2 separate regions of the Homo sapiens genome follow, and region 1 is linked to region 2. Evidence: promoter capture Hi-C in human tissues and cell types (Jung and others, 2019). All regions are on one chromosome and are shown on one strand. The core of a region is centred on a gene start or on the middle of the fragment in contact, and the rest is flanking DNA. Distances in the headings are between cores, read along the strand shown. Region 1 holds the start of ZNF267 (zinc finger protein 267). Region 2 holds the start of ZNF843 (zinc finger protein 843).

Region 1 (6,275 bases), core at 1,686-4,185, 430 kb after region 2:
GGAGTAAAGCAGTGAGTATGTTCTCAGTAGACCCTCCTGTCTGCTTCTGGAACACATCAACTGAATCTTTGTCCTCCATTTCCAGTTCTGCAGATGTGTCTGTTTCACTGATTGGCCCCAGTCAAAATGGAATCTGATCTGTGTCATGTAGAAACTCTGCCTTTCACCAAAGGCTTTCACTCATTCACTAAGTGGTGTGCACCTCTTCAACATCAACTGCATCCTGGGACCATCCTACCTGCCACCTTCAAATTCTGCCATAGCGGAGCCTGAAGGCTCTTCAGCTGCAGCTTCACCAAAGAAGTCCAGAGTGTGCACCAAACTAGTGAGCCAGCAGCTCCCGATGCCGCAGGTGAAGGAGGCAGCAGAGCCTTACTCGCTGTTTTTATCACCATCCCTCCAGCAACAGCAGCAGCAGCAGCATCCACAACTACTATTTCTAATTGTGGTAATAATGATGATCACACTTAGAATAATGATAAATAACAGTAGTTGTAATTGCTGACATGTTTAGTTTATATATAGATTTATTATTTGTAATGTTCTATAATTTACTTTTAGTAATATACACATTAATTGTGTCATAAATATCAGGACCTCAAAACACCCCACCTAATGAGTGATTCTCACATATGGACCCATGGCTGCCCACCTGCTAGCGTGGGTCCTCTCACCACTCCACCCCCAGAGCTTCGATCTGTCTGGTCAACATTCTGGGACAATGAAGTAGTTAAGTCATATGGTCTGACTGTGGTCTTGGCAAATAGCTTGACTTGTTAGAAATCAAAGGCTGACTTTAAGACGTACTCAGCTGTTTGGCTAAATTGTGGCAGAAAAAAATGTCTTCTCAGCAGATATACCTTTGTATCTCTTGCTTTCAGAGTAAAAGATTGTTTCAGTCACAGTAGTTTGAGTTAATCTGTATTGAAAATCATCAACAGCTTACAAATACTGAAAGGGGACAAAAATAATTTGCAGACACATTGAGTCCATTATAAGTGCTTTCAAATCTCTCCTATAAGAAATGAAAAATAGAATGTTAGGCCTTGATTTCTTAAACTCAGCCTTCAGCCATTTTCCCAAATTATTCTACATGTTTCCAAGACATTTCAGAAGCATTCTCTGGTGGGGATTATTTCCAATTGTGAAGAGTACTAGAAGGATGAGAATCAAAAGGAATCTTTCTTCTATCGCAAAAGAGTCAATCTCCAGGATTTCAAAGGCCTAGGGAAGCTGCTTGAGTTGTGAGGTCCATGGAGGTGCATGGGCTTTGGAGTCAGGCAGAGTTGATCCTGAGTTCCAGCCCAGCCCCTTAGTAGGCCCTAAGGACTCCCGTGGTGCTGTCACAAGCAGTGCTGCCTTTGGGAGCCCCTAACCTCCTGTCTTTTCTCCCTTCAGTGTGGGAAAGGGGTTTGGTCAGCCAGTGGTGTCAGCAGCCCTGTCCCACACCCGTTGTCTACACCTAATCTGGTGGCAGGGAGGCCACAGAGTGCAGCGACTAGAACTGGGTGAGAGGGTGAGAGGCAGCCATGCCCCAGGCCAAGACAAGTGCATGGAATCCTGACTGTCAGCAATCAGGGATGTTTCTGCTTTGGGGAGGGAAGCATTTGTTCCACACGTCTCACTGAATAAGGCACAGAGCCTGATCTGTCCCAAGTGGGAGTTTAACCAAGCTAGATGGCGGCCGAGGGCCCTGGCCCAGTTTGACACCCACCTCCTCTCCCACCTTCTACTCAGCCAGAAGACTAGGAGAATCTACTCAGCCGGAAGACTACGAGGTGCTGCAGCGCCACTAGCTCCAAGACTCCAGAAAAACAGGAATAGGGCATTCTGGCAGGTCAAAGCAGACAGAATACTTGAGCTCAGGAGTTGGCGAACTGACTATTAACCTGTAGCCCCAGTTACTTGGGAGGCTAAGGTGGGAGGATCGCTTGAGCTCAGGAGATGGAGACCAGCCTGGGCAACATGGTGAAACCTCATCTCTACAAAAAATACAAAAATCAGCCGGGCATGGTGGCATGTGCCTGTAGTCCCAGCTACTCAGGAGGCTGAGGTGGGAAGATTGCTTGAGCCCCGGAGGCTGCAGTGAGCCATGACTGCACCACTGCACCAGCCTGGGCAATAGAGTGAGACCCTGTCTCAAAACAAAAGCAAAAACCAGAGGTAGGGCTGAGGAGTCCGTGGCCACAGAGCCTGAGCCAGCACGGCCCAGAGGAACTGAGCTCCCAGCCCTGTCGCTGCCAAGGACCCTTCTTCCCTGAGCTTGAAGGGATTGAGAAGGAGAGACAGACGGACAGTCAGCGGCCCCGTTACCAGTGATGCAGACTCCAGGAGATGCGGGCAGAGTTGTAGATTAGAAGAATAGGCCAGCCCCTCTTCCACGTTCCACCACGGCCCGCAACATCCTCCTGGGACCCCAGCCTGCATGCCCCTATAAGATGCTTTTGCACTGGTTCAGTCTATGTATCATGCGAGGGCCTAATTGAAAACACGTGAATGAAGTGTACGGCCTTCTGTTCCCAGCTGAGGGGCCCCCTCCCACGGTGGCGTTAGCAGTGGGGTACAGTGCGGTAAGAGAGGTGCTAAGGGACGGGATGAGGGTCTTTCTTGCTTTAAAGGTGTCTAAATATACTTCTTCTTAAACTTAATTAGCTAATAAGATGTCTTATACAAGCAGAACCAGGTAAGGGAAAGAGCAAGTGTATTTCAAGTCGCAGCTCACCCCTTAATTAGCTGTAATACCCGCAGCAGGCGGCCCCACCTCAATGAGCCAGTCTCCCTTTCAAAAAAAAAAAAAAAAAAGGCACTAATAATGAGGGGGCGGGGCATGGAGCTTTATCCAATCAGGGGCGCTGGAGTGGAAACCGTCCAATCAGGAGTGAAGCCGGAGAGCAGGGGCGGCTTCCGGGATTTGGCGGGGGCCTTCGTCGGCTCCAGTTAGAGCTCGGGTCTCCTCGCCACAGCTCCGAGTCTTTCGTTCTGGGAGGCCCAGGCGGCTTCGCGTTCTGAGAATAAACAGAACCTCTGTTGCTCTGCGACTTGCAGGCACTGGGAGATTCGTAGCTAAGACGCCAGGGCATCCCGGAAGCTGGGAAATGGTGAGTGTGCGGGGTCGGGGGTCCCCAGAGGGAGGGAGGGCGGTGGTCGGAAGCGGCGGGAACCCGCTGTAGGGGCACCCGGGCCTCCCCGCAGTCAGCCTCGGGGTCTGGGCCCCGAGTCCCAACTGGTGCAGCTCGGCCCTCGGTCCCCTCCGCTGCAAGATGGCGGCCAGGCCGGCAGCCGGGACCCCGCGTGTCCTGTCCCATCCCGACCCCGCAGAGCGACCTCGTCCCTGGCCGGAGCCCTCTCTGGGCAGCTCCGCGTCGCAGCCCCGCGTCTCCCCCAGATTGTGCGGTGAGGACGGGAGCGTCTCAGGGGAGACCCAGGTTCGGTGTGTGGGAAGAAACCGTGCCCTGTGGGGTCCTCAGTCACTACTCCTCTTAAGAATTAAAGGGAGTCACTGTTAAAACGTTGAAGAATTTGAGCAAATAGCGATTTGTGACATGGGAAGCCTGCAGTCCTGGTTTGTGGTTCGGAGATCCCCAGAGGGGCTTGAAGGAAAGGTTTTTATAAGGTGCATGAGGAAGCAGACCAAATTAACCGATGGGTTACAGTTTGTAGTTGCCTTATTTAGACTATGCAGGTGGAGGTGAATTGGAGCTTTGTGGTTCGTTAAGTCTGAATTTTGTTTTCCCCTAAAGTTGTAATTTACAAGAAAAGCATTTGAGTTTGGTTTTGGTTTTTCTCCCTAGAAACCTGGGGCACTATAACCACTTCCGTATAATCGCCTGCTCATTAATCATCTTAACACTGCCCAGGGGAACTGGTTTTCCCCCTGCGCTTTCCTAACGTGTAGCACGCAGAGTCTCAAGTCCACCACTGTGTTCCCCCAGTCTAACTGGGCTTGCAATAAAATATTAAATTTCCAGTTCCTTCCCGACATTTCCAAAGGCCAACTTCCCCTCTCCAGTTCACATTCTTAACTATTGGTCATTTATTGTACATTTCAGACAGTATTTTACTCATTAATCATGATTTCACAGAGCAGTGGATGACACTTTTTTAAAGATTTGTGTTTTTTTGGCATACATTTCACGTGAGAGGAAAGCAGAGAATAAAAAATCCCTGACACTCCACTGCAAAAAAAACTGTGCCTCTTTTTCATTCATCTTCCCCAGGCACAGACACGTTATCGGAAAGAATGTCTTTTGACTTGAGGTTTTGCTTTGGAAACTTTACAGGGCCCTGTATAGCCACCCTCTATCCAGTCTTTTCCTGTTCCTGAATTTCAGAACTGTCTGGGATGACTCAAGATGCCCACAGTGGCCATGTCTCCTGGAGTGTTTAGTGACTGTCAGCCCCAGGTCACCTCCTGTTAGAGGACCGCCCAAGGTATGGAAATGTAGTCCCTCAGGGGAGCAGCTGGATGCCCTGGGGCTGAGAGAAATCTCCTGGGACACCCTTAACCTAAAAAGATAACCCCTTGGGACATAAGGATTTTATTTCTTCAAAGCTAGTTTTCATCCCTTGGAGACACATTGCTGGTCAGCCAATCGTTTGCTGGTATTGAGGGGAAACAGTCACAAATGATTCCTGCCCCCTAGATTCATTCAGATTTGTGAAGGGAGAAAAACTCCCAAAGGACCAAAAAACAAAAACCCCACCCCAGTGAGGTGGTGCAAACTCGGCTGCGGTGTCCATGGGGCACAGTGCAGGATCTGGGAGGATGGTCCCTGAGCATTTTAATGAGCAGTATTGGGGTAGGAGAATGTCTCAAATGATACCGTGACCTGACTTGACACTTGAGCCAGATATGTCTGTATTCCAACAGCATTACCACTCCCTGAGTTTGCTGCCTTAGATTGTTCATTTATTTCTACTTCAGTTTTTCAGTTAGTGTAAATTTCATCAGTAGAGCTTGAAAGATAAAAAACATTTCCAAGGCCATGAAAGGTGGATTTCAGAAAATTAAAATATCAAGTCATACTTCATTGTTAAAAATTCTTACTATCTTTTTTTTCAGCAGAATGAGTGTAGTAAGTTTCTCAGGTTTGTTCTTTTTTTGGGAGTAATTTAAAACAGAATCTCAGGGCTCACCTTTTGGAAATGCTGCCAGGGAAAAGAAACAGAGAAAATCTTTCTTTCATTATTGGCTGTAGAAAGTGAATACATTTTCACAACAACGTGTGGTAAATTGGTGAATTACATAGTTTCATCAAAACATCAGTTTCTTTTTTTTGTAGGGTGAAGAAGTTATGACAGTGGATATCTTTGTTCTTTATCCTCTTGTCTGGATGTTGAGTTTATTTTTTATTTTTTGTTTTTGGAGACAGGATCTCTCCTCTGTCACCCAGACTGAAGTGCAGTGGTGTGATCACAGCTCACTCAACCTCCTGGGCTCAAGTGATCCTCCCACCTCAGCCTTCCAAGTAGATGGGACTTACAGGGGTGCTGCGCCATGGCTGGCTATTTTGTTTTTTCTTTTTGTAAAGATGTGGGTCTCACTGTGTTGCCCCCAGAGTGGTCTCAAACTCCTGGGCTCAAGTGATCCTCCCGCCTTGGCCTCCCAAAGTGCTGGGATAACAGGCATGAGCCACCATGCCTGGCCTTGGATGTATGGCTTTAATGCTGAACGTAGCACTGGCTAGAATTGTTTATATATGATTATTTACTAAATGATCTGTTATCATGGAAATAAGTAAGTGGCCTATTTATTGTCTGAAAGGGATAGATACTTTAGTGTTTTCTGTTGAGGTATAAATTATAAAGGCGTTTCACTTTCCTTTATTCTATAAACACTGTTTGAGTAGTTTTGCTTTCTTCCAACACTGGGCATTCTCATTGAATACTAATTGAATAACCCTGACTGGGAAGCAGAAGCCTGAGCTCAGAGAGTGCAAACTAACCTGGTCTTGAGCCTGCAAGAAGAGGTCACTGAAGCCCAGTTAGTTCTTCCAGGGGAGTTTCCCCTGCAGGTTTCCCAGCCTGCTCACCCCATCCATGGAAGGAGCCCTTTATACTGAGAAGCTACAGAGCCCTGGAAAGCTGAAAGCTGAAAATCCACAGAAAGAGGCATTTGGGGTTGGGATGGAAGGAGGGTTGGGAGGCTCTTTCTGAGGGTAGAAATTGTGATTGTCCTGATTTTGGTTTTTCTTCCCAGAAACCCAGGGCACTACAACCACTTCCATATAGTCGCCTACTCATTAATCATTTTAACACTCCCCCCACCCGACAAC
Region 2 (6,305 bases), core at 597-3,096:
CATTCTTCCTGTGACTATAACTCCTCTCTTACATTCCCTGTCATCAGCCTTGCCCAGGCTTTCCTAATCTCTTCCCTAGATGAGTGTGTTTTCCAGTTGGCCTTTTGTGATTTGATTCCCCTCTCTTCCAATGGATGATCTGACACAAGGGCTGTCAAGCATGCTTGTTACTGTAGGGCAGTGCTTACTGTTTTCACAGCATGGAACCCACAGAAAATGTTACAATATGAGTAACTCACAGGGATAAAGGGTTGAGATTGCTCCCTACTGAAGGTGCCCGGCCCAGTGCTTCGGGCCACCCTAGGCCCTACCTACCTTCCTCAGGGGTTAAAGCAGTGGTTCTCAGTGCTAGCTGCACATTAGGATTACCTGGGAGCTTTCAAAATTATTTTGCCTGTGCTGCACCCAGGAGTAACAACATACAGCCAAGGTTAAGAACCTTTTTAGCTAAATGGTTATCTGTTTATCCTCAGTTACCGCCACAGCTTATCCTTCTACTACAGTGCCTCCTGAGTAATGGGCACACCGTACAGTATTATTATTGATTATTATTAGTATTAGAGACAGGCTCTCCCTCTATCATCCAGGCTGGAGTGCAGTGGCACCATCATGGCTCACTGCAGCCTCGACCTCCTGGGCTCAAGCGGTCCTCCCTCAGCCTCCTGAGTAGCTGGGATCACAGGTGTGCACCACCACACCTGGCTAATTTTTTTTTTTTAAATAATTAGTGTAGACAGGATCTCATTGTTGCCTACGCTACTCTCCAACTCTTGGGCTCAAGCGATCCTCCCGCCTTGGCTTCCCGAAGTGCTGGGATTACAGACGTGAGCCGCAGCGCCCGGCAGAATACAGAAGTAATAAACTAAGGTCAAGGCCATGTACTGAGGTGTTCAAGGCTCTGAACTGCTGGACTCAATGTCACAAGATAAATTTTAACCTCACCAAACCCTCTCAGCTTAAGAGTATCTGCTAAGTTCTGAGAAAGCAAACGGGGCGTGTGAAAAGATGGGTGTTCATGCCTGTGTGTATGTGGGGTCGGTGATGCAGTTAAGGACAGAACCCAGGGGAGGACTCCGGGACGGGGGAGGCGGCTGAGATTTTAAGGCGGGCCGGGTGTGCTGCAGCCAGCACTGCCGGAGAATCGCTGGGAAACGGCTCCAGCAGGAGAATGGAGGGTGGACGGCCGGCCGCAAAGGCGGTGGAGGTGTTGGCCCGCCCCTTCCCTCCTGATAACACCGACGTGCGTGTGGGGTCCACGGAACGCCCCACCAAGCCTCGCCTGGCGCGGGGTCGAGGGGCTCGGCGGAGGCGCGTGTTCAGGTGGAGGCGGTGGGCCCGGGCTGCGGCCCTTCGCTCGATTTTATTTATTTATTTATTTATTTATTTATTTATTTTTGAGACGGAGTCTCGCTGTGTTCCCCAGGCTGGAGTGCAGTGGCGAGATCTCGGCTCATTGCAACCCCTGCCTCCCGGGTTCAAGCGATTCTCCTGCCTCAGCCTCCCGAGTAGCTGGGACCACAGGCGTCCGCCACCACGCCCGGCTAATTTTTGCATTTTTAGTAGAGAAGGGATTTCACTATATTGGCCACGCTGGTCTCGAACTCCTGACCTCGTGATCCGCCCGCCTCGGCCTCCCAAAGTGCTGGGATTACGGGCGTGAGCCACCGCGCCCGGCCCCTTCGCTCGCTCTTACCCGGTGAGGTCCCGTGCCCGCGTACCTCCCGCATGACACTTGGGCGTGCGGCCGAGCCGGGAGCGCCCCTGCCCCGCGAGCCGCCCCCGAGAGACACGGCGGATCGGAACCCAGCCGGGCGCGTAGCTCCGGGAAGGGGACGTGGCGAGGACCCGGCAGCCGCGGGGCCTGTGGGGAAACATGGTCCCCGCAAGGGACCCTGGGAGCTGGAGGCGTCCTGGCCCGGCGTCCGGAGCCCACGGCCCAGGACTAGGATGCCGGGGGTCTCGGGCGTCCTCCCTAACCTCAGTCATAGGGCGCTCCGTATCCAGCCCGCCCTGCTTGCCTCTCGCTTCCCCCAAATACTGCCCCGACCTGTCCCCTGGCCCTCACCAAGACAGGGAGAAACGACCGAGACACTGAGGACTCCGCTAACAGCTGCCTGAGACCCAACCCCTCCACTCCCTGACCAGGATGAGGGAGTCCGCGCCATGCGCATGCACACACGCGGGCCTCTCCTCCTCCCACCTTTTGCGCGTCTCGCCCGGGCATCGAAGGAAGGGAATGACGGCGCGACGGCGACCCCTAGGGGCGGGAGGAGGCGCTAGGAGCGGGGCTGGGAAGCGCCATGGTGCAGGTTGAACGGGGACATTGGGTCACCGGGATGGGTGGAATTAGGGTAGGGCGAGTGAGGCACTGGCTTCTGGCACAGAATTTAAGGAGACACCCCAAAATTTAGTAATCAGGATACACAGACTGAGCGCAGTGGCTCACGCCTGTAATCCCAACACTTTGGGAGGCCAAGGCGGGAGGACTGCTTGAGGCCAGGAGTTAGGGATCAGCCTGGGCAACAAAGCGAGACCCCCATCTCTACAAAAAAAAATTAAAATTTAGCCGGACTTGGTGGTGGGCGCCTGTGGTCCCAGCTACTCAGGATGCTTAAGTGGGAGGATCACTTGAGCCCAGGAGGTTGAAGGTGCAGTGAGCTATGGTGACACCTCTGCACTCCAGCCTGGGCAACAGAGCAAGACCATGTCTCTTAAAAAAAAAAAAAAAAAAAAAAAAAGCTAGACGCGGTGGCTCACGCCTGTAATCCCAGCACTTTGGGAGGGCAAGGGTAGTGGATCAGTTGAGGTCAGGAGTTCGAGACCAGCCTGGCCAACATGGTGAAACTAAAAATACAAAAATTATTCTACTAAAAATACAAAAATTAGCCGGGTATGGTGGTGCACACCTGTAATCCCAGCTACTTAGGAGACTGAGGCAGGAGAATCGCTTGAACCCAGGAGGCAGAGGTTGCAGTGTTGCAGAGGTTGCAGATCATGCCACTGCACTCCAGCCTGGGTGAAAGAGTGAAACCCTGTCTCAAAACAACAACAACAACAACAACAACAACAACAACAACAACAACCACCACCACCCAAAGTATATTATATGCACACCCTACTGAGTTTGATTCCTGGTTCCACCAGTTAATAGCTGTGGGAGTTTGGGCAGTTTGGTGAATCTAATCTCTGTATCTCAATTTCTTCATCTGTAACATGGCAATAATAACAGCACCTACTTACCTCATAAGGTTGCTGGGAAGATTCAAGGAGATAAGCCAAGTGAAGAGCTTAGCACAATGTCTGGCACATGGTGAGTGTTCAGTGAATGTTAGTCAGTTGGTGGCTATGGCAGCCATCTGCTGAGATAGTTCCCAGTGATCCTACTCCTGGTGTTCACACCCTTTTTAGTCCCTTCCCACAATGCACCAGGGTTGGTCTATGTGACCTGTGGAATACTATAGGAGTTTCTTTCTTTCTCTCTTTCTCTCATTCTCTTTCTTTCTTTCCTCTCTCTTTCTTTCTTTTTTTGACAGAGTCTTGCTCTATCACCCAGGCTGGAGTGCAGTGGCACGATCTCGGCTCACTGCAACCTCTGCCTCCTGGGTTCAAGTGATTCTCGTGCCTCAGCCTCCCAAGTAGCTGGGATTACACACACGGCCACCACACCTGGCTAAATTTTGTATTTTTAATAGAGATGGGGTTTTGCCATGTTGGCCAGGCTGGTCTCGAACTCCTGACCTTAGGTGATCCACCCACCTCAGCCTCCCAAAGTGCTGGGATTACATGCATGAGCCACCGTACCTGGCAAGAATTACTTATAATTAGGTTATAAAAGTCATGACAGTGAAAACCTCCCAACTTATTCTGAGGCCAGTATTACCCTACTATCAAAATCAGACAAAGACATCACAAGAAAACTAGAGACTAATATCTCTTATGAATATAGACATAAAAATCCTCAAGAAAATACCGGCAAATAAAATTCAGAAATATATAAAAAGGATAACCAGGTGGGATTTATCCCAGGAATGTACGGTTAGCTTAACTTATGAAAATAAATTAATACACTACATCAATACAATAAAGGAAAACATTATTATTTCAATTGGTGTAAAAACAGCATTTGACAAAATTCAGCACCCTTCATCATAAAAATACTCAGCAAACTAGGAATAGAAGGAAACTCAATTAACGTGATAAAGGGCATCTATGAAAAAACCCACTGCCAACATCATACTCAATGGTGAGAGAATAAAAGCTTTTCCTCTAAGATCAGAAACAAGAAAGGGATGCCCACTTTTGCCACATCTATTCAGCCTTGTACTGGAAGCTCTCACCAGTTCTTGCCTGGAAGCTCTTGCCATGAGGCAAGGAAAAATAAAAAGCAAGCAAATCAGAAAGGAAGAAGTAAAACTATCTCCATTTATAGATGAGGTGATTTTATAGAAAATCCTAAAGAATCTATGAAAAAAACTTTGTTAGAGCTAATAAACAAATTCTGCAAAGCTGTAACAACAAAATCAATACACAGAAGTCAGTTGTGTTTCTATACTCTTGATATATTCTATATTCTGGTGTAGTCTATTTTCTGCTGCTATAACCATGCCACAGATTGGGTAATTTATAAAGAAAGGAGATTTATTTGGCTCACAGTTCTGCAGTCTTAGAGGTCCAACAGCATGGCACCAGCATCAAGGGTCATCCATGGCAGAAGGTGAAAGTGCTTTGTATTAGTCTGTTTTCACACTGCTGTAAGGAACTACCTGAGACTGGGTAATTTATTTAAAAAAAAAAAAAAGAAAGAAAAAAAAAAAGAGGCCAGGCGCAGTGGCTCACGCCTGTAGTCCCAGCACTTTGGGAGGCAAGGTGGGCAGATCACTTGAGGTACGGAGTTTGAGACCAGCCTGGCCAACGGTAAAACCCTGTCTCTACAAAAAATTTAGCTGGCTATGGTGGCAGGCACCTGTAATCCCAGCTATTCAGGAGGCTGAGGCAGGATAATTGTTTGAACCTGGGAGGCAGAGGTTGCAGTGAGCTGAGACAGCGCCACTGCACTCCAGCTTCGGTGACAGATTGAAACTCGGTCTCAAAAAAAAAAAAAAAAAGTTTAATTGACTCACATGGCTGGGGAGGCCTCAGGAAACTTACAATAATGGCAGAAGGTGAAGGGGAAGCAAGGCACATCTTACATGGCAGCAGAAGAGAAAGGGAGAGCAAAGAGGAAGAGCCACACACTTATCAAACAACCAGATCTCCTGAGAATTCGATCACGAGAATAGCAAGGGGGAAGTCCGCCCCCATGATTCAGTCACCTCCCACCAGGCCATTCCCCCAACATGTGGGGATTACAATTTGAGACAAGATTTGGGTGGGGACACAGAGCCAAACCATATCAGGCATGCAATCTTGTGAGACGTGAGACACAGAGAGAAATAGCACTGAATTTATCCTTGTATCAGGAGCCTACCCCTGTGATAACTAACTCATTCCCATGATAATGGCATTAATCCACTCATGAGGACAGAACTTTCATGACTTAATCACCTCGTAAAGGCCTCATCTCTTAATATTGTTACAATGGCAATTAAATTTCAACATGAGTTGGAGGGGATGTTCAAACCATAGCACTCTCAATAAAAAATTATACAATAGGCAGGGCGAGGTAGTTCCCTCCTATAATCCCAGCACTTTGGGAAGCCAAGGTGGGCGGATTACCTGAGGCAAGGAGTTCGAGACCAGCCCAGCCAACATGGCAGAACACTGTCTCTACTAAAAATACAAAAATTAGCTGGGCATAGTGACACACACCTCTAATCCCAGCTACTCGAGAGGCTGAGGCACAAGAATCCCTTGAACCTGGGAGGCAGAGGTTGCAGTGGGTTGCGATTGTGTCTCTGCACTCCAGCCTCAGTGACAGAGGGAGACTCTGTCTCAAAAAAAAAAAAATTAAAAATTAAAAAAATATATGTATATATACAAGGTAGATATTGAATATCTGCATGCAAAAGAATGAATTTGGATCCCTATATCACAATACATATAAAAGTTAACTCAAATTGAATCATAGAACTAAAAGTTAGGACTCTTAGAATCTTTATAACTTTGAATTAAGCAATGCTTTCTTAGATATGACACCAAAAGCACAAGCAACAAAAGAAAAAAATACAGAAACTGAACACCATCAAAATTGAAACCTCTTGCGCTTCATATGACATTATTCTTTAATTTTTTTCTTTTTCTTTCCAAATACCCAGACGTCAGGGAGATTCACAGGACATTATTAAGAAAAAGAGAAGATAAAAAAG

Evidence for each region. Contacts are between HindIII fragments. The study calls those that stand out against the background at their distance.
Region 1: the fragment with the promoter of ZNF267 here is called in contact with the fragment with the promoter of ZNF843 in region 2 in 1 of the 25 tissues and cell types used here (H1 embryonic stem cells).

The regions. Positions count from the first base shown.
Region 1 is chr16:31,870,872-31,877,146 of GRCh38, forward strand. It overlaps ZNF267 (zinc finger protein 267), which reads left to right and starts at 2,936. Exons shown (of 4, transcript NM_003414.6): 1 at 2,936-3,098. The coding sequence starts at 3,096. RefSeq lists an enhancer at 2,757-3,051 and silencers at 2,938-2,987, 3,138-3,217. The HindIII fragment of the contact is 15,903 bases long and covers 1-6,275 here.
Region 2 is chr16:31,440,943-31,447,247 of GRCh38, forward strand. ZNF843 (zinc finger protein 843) reads right to left here and starts at 1,847. Exons shown (of 2, transcript NM_001136509.3): 1 at 1,694-1,847. RefSeq lists an enhancer at 1,474-2,269 and a silencer at 1,654-1,863. The HindIII fragment of the contact is 16,324 bases long and covers 1-6,305 here.